Linked DNA regions of Homo sapiens: region 1 is linked to region 2. Evidence: promoter capture Hi-C in human tissues and cell types (Jung and others, 2019). All regions are on one chromosome and are shown on one strand. The core of a region is centred on a gene start or on the middle of the fragment in contact, and the rest is flanking DNA. Distances in the headings are between cores, read along the strand shown. Region 1 has its middle 180 kb from the start of ADRA2C. Region 2 holds the start of RGS12 (regulator of G protein signaling 12).

Region 1 (2,700 bases), core at 11-2,510, 650 kb after region 2:
CATGGTGGGTTTGAATGAGTTAAATGAGTGTCATGCTGTGGCCTCACTGCACCCAGCATAGATGGGTGTTTGGAAGGGTGGCGTTAGAGGAGATTCTAGAAGCAGTAGCCCCAGCACAAGTTGAGCCCTTGGCCCCTGCTCAGGAGCCGGCTCCTGGATGGGATTCAGGGATTCAAGCCCCTCGTGTGAGCTGAGCTCAGGGAACGTCTTGATCAAATCTGGTGCCCTAGAAAAGTCATCTTTTATGTGCTGAACCAGTCTCCAGGGGGTTGCCTTACTTGTTCCACAGCCATGGAATTAAGAAAAACATACAAAAATAATTCTTCAGTCCTTGAAGAGCATCCAGCACAGAAGGTACAAACCCTCCTTAAGGCTCCCTCCTCAAATCGGTTTGGCCATTTTGATGTGCACTCCCCCAGGCCTTTATACCCTTCAGATGCCAAATCTAAGAACCAGCTCCCAGAAACCACACCCCCTGTTCCAATCCCCAGCCTGGCTTGAGCGTGGGGTGCGAGGGGAGCCCAGGTGGGCACCCCAGGGGTCTGGTGTCTTCTCCAGGCAGCTCTCAGGCTCCCTTGGTTCTCTCTGCAGTTTACATGAGCTGGTGAAACATCAAGAAAACGGCTTGGTCTTTGAGGACTCAGAGGAACTGGCAGCTCAGCTGCAGGTAGCCACATCTGCCACTAAGCCAGGGTGGGCAGGGTTCTGGAGACTGGCACCGAGCCACGCTCCCTGATCCCTGCTTCCCACAGTCGGGGTGGGACCATGTGGGGTCTGGCGGAAAAGCTAGGGAGGGAGCAGAGGTCACAGAGGCTGGCCTACTCTGCTGTCCCGTTTCGGTACAGTAGGCTCGGGAAAGTTAGGACACAACCCCACCTGCCCGCCTGCCCGCTGGATTTATGGAACAGACACTCCACAAATGACGCTGGAGCCGGGTGGGCCGGGCTGCAGTTTAGGAAGTGAGCAGGATCAGGTAGGTGAGTGGGCAAAGGGAGCTTCTGGGACCAGCCTTGAAAGATGGGTGGAATTCTGCAAATGTTACTTGTTTCTTATTGCAAAAAGTAATACATCGTTCTTGCCAACAGAATGACTGGCAGGATTTTCAGTAAAGGTCCAAGTCGGAAGTCATTTAGACTGGGTCCCCTAGTCTCTGTCAGAACCATGGTACTCTGTTGGGGTGTGAAAGTAGCCACAGATCATCTGTAGATTAAGGGGTGTGGCTTTGTTCCAATAAATCTTTATTTACAAACACAGGCTGTGGGCTGGATTTGGCCTGCAGGCTGTAGTTTGTGATCCTTGATTCAGACAGTTTAGCAAGGCTGAAAAGAACACCGACACCCCCTTGTTACCCACAGATGGGTGGGACTTGGCCAGAGGCCAAGAGGAGGGTGCTCGCAGGGGAGCATACAGCATGAAGAGGCCGGGAGGTGCCCCAGGACACCAAGTGTGGGAAAGTGGGACATGCGGGGAAGTTCCCAGAAAGCGTGATGTCAAGTTGGAGGCGGAGCGCTGCTGGGGCGTGAAGAGTCTCGAGTCCAAGTGAGGGAGTTAAGAACTTGGTAGGGGTTGTTGTTGGGTCGGGCACCTGGGGTCAGCCAGGTGGTGACCTGGGATGCGGTGGGGACAGGCAATGAGGTAAGCTCTGCTCTTTAGTATTATGCAGATGCTTTTCTCAAACTTTCCTGATCCTGCAGGCAAGCTAAACCTGTTCCGGAAGAACCTGCGGGAGTCGCAGCAGCTCCGATGGGATGAGAGCTGGGTGCAGACTGTGCTCCCTTTGGTTATGGACACATAACTCCTGGGCCAGAGGCTAAAACCCCAGGGCCCCTGCTGTCCTTCCCGCAGCTTCTTCTTGGAGTCTCAGGGCAAACCCTTTCAAGCAGCGCCTCCCAGTGGCCAGAAGCTGAAATGACGGCAGTGGTGCCGCCTGGTGAGTGAATTGCTTCTGTGACCCGGGAAGCTGTGGTTGGCTCTGATTTCTTTTTTGGAGGCTTGGAAACACTTCCTCTCTTCTTCTGTTCTTCACGCCCCATGCCCCTGCTAGCGTACTACTGTTCTGTGACTTCCCTGTGACCTCTGCAGTACTCCTCATCCTGCGTTTGGTCTCCAGGTGTCGCCTTTCTGCCGTGTTCCTAATATTTTGATTCCTGTCTTGAAAAAAGCACCTGCTGCACAGTAAGCCCAGGGATGTGGCAGCTGCAGCGGGCTTGGCTTTGTGAGGAACCGGGTGTGTCCACGTTGGGGGAACATCATACTTGATACACACGTTTTTATTTGCACAAAGAAAATGCTATTTTTAGAGCCAGAATTTTCATGTCTGATTTATGGTGATTTTCTTAAGAACCAGAACTGCTGGCAGAAAGGGGGCACCCACACGCTTAGATAGCCGATGTCTTATTAGAGGGCAGTTTGTGGTTCCTGATTTGGAAATTAATATTCTCCAAACATTCCAGTCCAATGAAAGTTTTATCCGCTTTCCCATGTAAAAATTCTTCCCATGAGAGTGACTTGATCCTCACAATCCCGTTGAAGTCGCGTGTGAGTCCTACAGTATTAGGTTCAGCATTGCCATCTCCAAGTGCTCTTTGTAGGGAAACAGTTTCTGGTCATGACAAGCTTCCACTTCCCATCTGATCCTGGCCTGGCCTGGAAACAGAGCACATGTGTTTGAGGATGGCGGTGTTTGGGGACAGGACATGA
Region 2 (2,700 bases), core at 6-2,505:
GCTCCTTCAGCCCTGCAGGTGAAAACAGTTCCCTCCCTGCTGTTACCTGTCCCAATTCAGCACCGCCCTGTGGCTTCCCGGCTCCCGGACCGCGCCTCTGCCAGCGGGAACCCTGCTGGACTCTTAATTAATTGTCCCACTGAGAATGCCATTGGTTTCCTCCTGGGATCCAAACTAATCACACAAGACTAGATGATGGAGAGCTGCCAAGAAACCATGGGGCGGTGGCGGGGACGGAGGGGAAGCGTTTTGAGCCCATCAAGGCAGGTGACAGGAAAGAAGCAAACCCGAGAGGGGCCGAGTCCCTGGGCGGGCGGCAGGGCTGGAGCGTGAACAGCAGCGACGGATGCGTCTCGAGGGAAAAACGCGGCGGGAGAGAATGAGGGGAAGGCAGGAAGGAAGGGGCAGGGAGACCCAGCGCCGGGGAAGGAAGACACGAAGAGGGCGAGGAAGGAACTCCGGCCTAAAGGGTGAAGGCGGCGGCTGGGACAGGGCCAGAGGCGCAGGCCGGGGCCGGGCAGCTCCTCCTCTCGTGCCAGCGGTGCCTCCGGTCCCGCCCTCGCTGCTGCCCGCGCTCCGGGAGGGGCAGACCCGCTGGACGCCGCAGTCACCGCGCCGCCTTCGCGGGCGTCCCGGGGCCCGGAGGGAACGGCCTTTCCTGGCTGTCCCCGTGGCTTCGCCGCGGGAACTCACGCCGCCCCCGAAGCTGCCGCCAGCTCCGGGCATCTGCCCAGCCGAAAAGCCAGGGCGCCGGGGCCTGACTCCCCACAGCCAGGTTTCCCGGGCACAGAGACCCAACGGGAGCGGGACTTCCTCGGACACCGACGGCGAAGGACAGAGACAGCCCAGGCAGGGGCGGCTCCTCCCGGCCACACCGACCTGCCCTTCGCAGGGTGTCCCGGGCCAGCGGAGGCAGAGAAAACCAGCTTGCGGGAACGCAGTCGCTCCCAGCACCAGGGCCGGGCCAGTGCGGGTACACACCGTGCGCACCAGCGCCGCCGCGCCCCCAACGGAAGTCCCGCCCCCGGCCGTGGAGGCCCCGTCCCTCGCTTCTTCTCATCCCTGCTTCCCTGGCAGTCCCGTTACCACGCTGTCCCGACGCGAAGGCCCTCGCCCCGCCCCGTGCCCCGCCCCCGCATCGCCCCGCCCCAACCCCACCCCCTTGGCCCCGCCTCACCAGGTTCGCCCCGCCCCTCTCCGTCCCCGCCCCTCCTCCGGCCTCGGCCCCGCCCTCGCCTCGACCCCGGGGGGCGGTGGCTGCCGAGGCGACCGTTGCGCGCGCGGGCGGTGGCGCGGGCCGAAGCGCCCGGAGCGGGAGCGAGCGGCGCGGCCCGGTAGGTGTGCGGGGCCGGGGCCGGGGCGGGGGCAGGGCGCGCCGCCTCCGCTCTTTCTTTCGTCTCCGGGGCGCGCGCCCGCGCCCTCCGCCTCCCGGCCGATCCCGGCCAGCCCTGCGCGGCGCCCGTCCCCTCGGGGTCGCCGCCCGCCCGCCCTGCCTTTTGTTCGCCGGCCTGACTCAGGCTCCTGGTCCCGGGCCCGGCGCGGGGCGGGGCGGGGCGGGGGCGGGGGCGGGCGGCGCGGGGCGCGGGCCTGTGGGGCCTCCGGCCGGGCGGGTGCGCGGCCTCCTGGGGCCCCGCGCTGTGAGGCCCGCCCGGGCCCTTGGCGGGACCCGCGGGGGCGGCGCCGGGCAGGGGGTCCCGCGGGCGAGATGCGCCCGGGAGCGCTGGGAGGGTTCCCTCGTCGGACTCCACGAGCGGCCGCTTTGTTAGGGCAGAAGCTGCCTTCCGAGACCCGAACTCCAGACGCACTGCAGCGACCTGGGGTCGCCTCAGCCGCGGTGCCGCGATTGTGCAGTGTAGACAGAGGGGTCCCAGAGCCGTGCGGTGTAGACAGAGAGGGGCCCAAAGCTGTGGAATGGGGACAGAGAGGGGACCCAGAGCTGTGGAGTGTAGACAGAAAGGGCGCCCAGAGCCATGGAGTATAAACAGTGGAGTGTAGACAGAGAGGGGGCCCAGAGCTGTGGAGTGTGGACAGAGAGGGGGCCCAGAGCCGTGGAGTGTAGACCGAGAGGGGGCCCAGAGCCGTGGAGTGTAGACAGAGAGAGGGCCCAGAGCCATCTAGTGTAGACAGAGAGGGGACCCATAGCTGTGGAGTGTAGACAGAGTCTCATAGCCGTGCAGACAGAGAAGGGGCCCAGAGCCATGGAGTGTAGACAGTGGAGGGTGAACACAGAGGGGGCCCAGAGCCGTGGAGTGTGGACAGAGAGGACCACCTGGCCTCTCACCTGCTTGGTCACTTGCTGGGAATGTGTCCCTGGGCAGGTGACCACCTTCTCTGTGCCTGAGTTTCCTCATTGGACCTGTCTTTGGAGCTGCTGCAAGGGCTAAGAGTGTCTTTGTCTGAAGTCCTCAGCGTGGTCCATGCCGTCCTGTGCAGGGCCCTTCTGAGGCCACAGGGACGTGCAGGATGGCCGGCAAGGCCTGCACAGAAGGGGCGCTGGGGGGCCTTCCCAGGCAAGGCAGCAGCCCCACCATTCACAGCAAGGAGACTACCAAGGAGGGCAGAGAGGCGGCTTTGGGCAGCAAGGGCTGCTGGGGTGGAGTCCTGCTGGCCTTCCCCTAGAGAAGGCGACGTGGGGAGGGCAGAGCAATTCTGAGTAAGGGAGAACCAGTTTATATTTCACTTTAGAAAGTAATTGTCACA

Evidence for each region. The method cuts DNA at HindIII sites, captures the fragments that hold promoters and counts their contacts. A contact is called where the count stands out against the background at its distance.
Region 1: a contact is called between a fragment that was not itself captured here and the fragment with the promoter of RGS12 in region 2, in 2 of the 25 tissues and cell types used here (dorsolateral prefrontal cortex and lymphoblastoid cells).

Annotation. Positions count from the first base shown.
Region 1 is chr4:3,940,727-3,943,426 of GRCh38, forward strand. It overlaps the pseudogene ALG1L7P and the pseudogene FAM86EP. Among named protein-coding and RNA genes, the nearest start is that of ADRA2C, 180 kb to the left of the region's middle. The HindIII fragment of the contact is 3,071 bases long and covers 1-2,700 here.
Region 2 is chr4:3,291,766-3,294,465 of GRCh38, forward strand. RGS12 (regulator of G protein signaling 12) reads left to right here and starts at 1,256. Exons shown (of 18, transcript NM_001394154.1): 1 at 1,256-1,334. RefSeq lists silencers at 562-671, 852-1,331, 1,342-1,391 and an enhancer at 2,045-2,630. The HindIII fragment of the contact is 22,100 bases long and covers 1-2,700 here.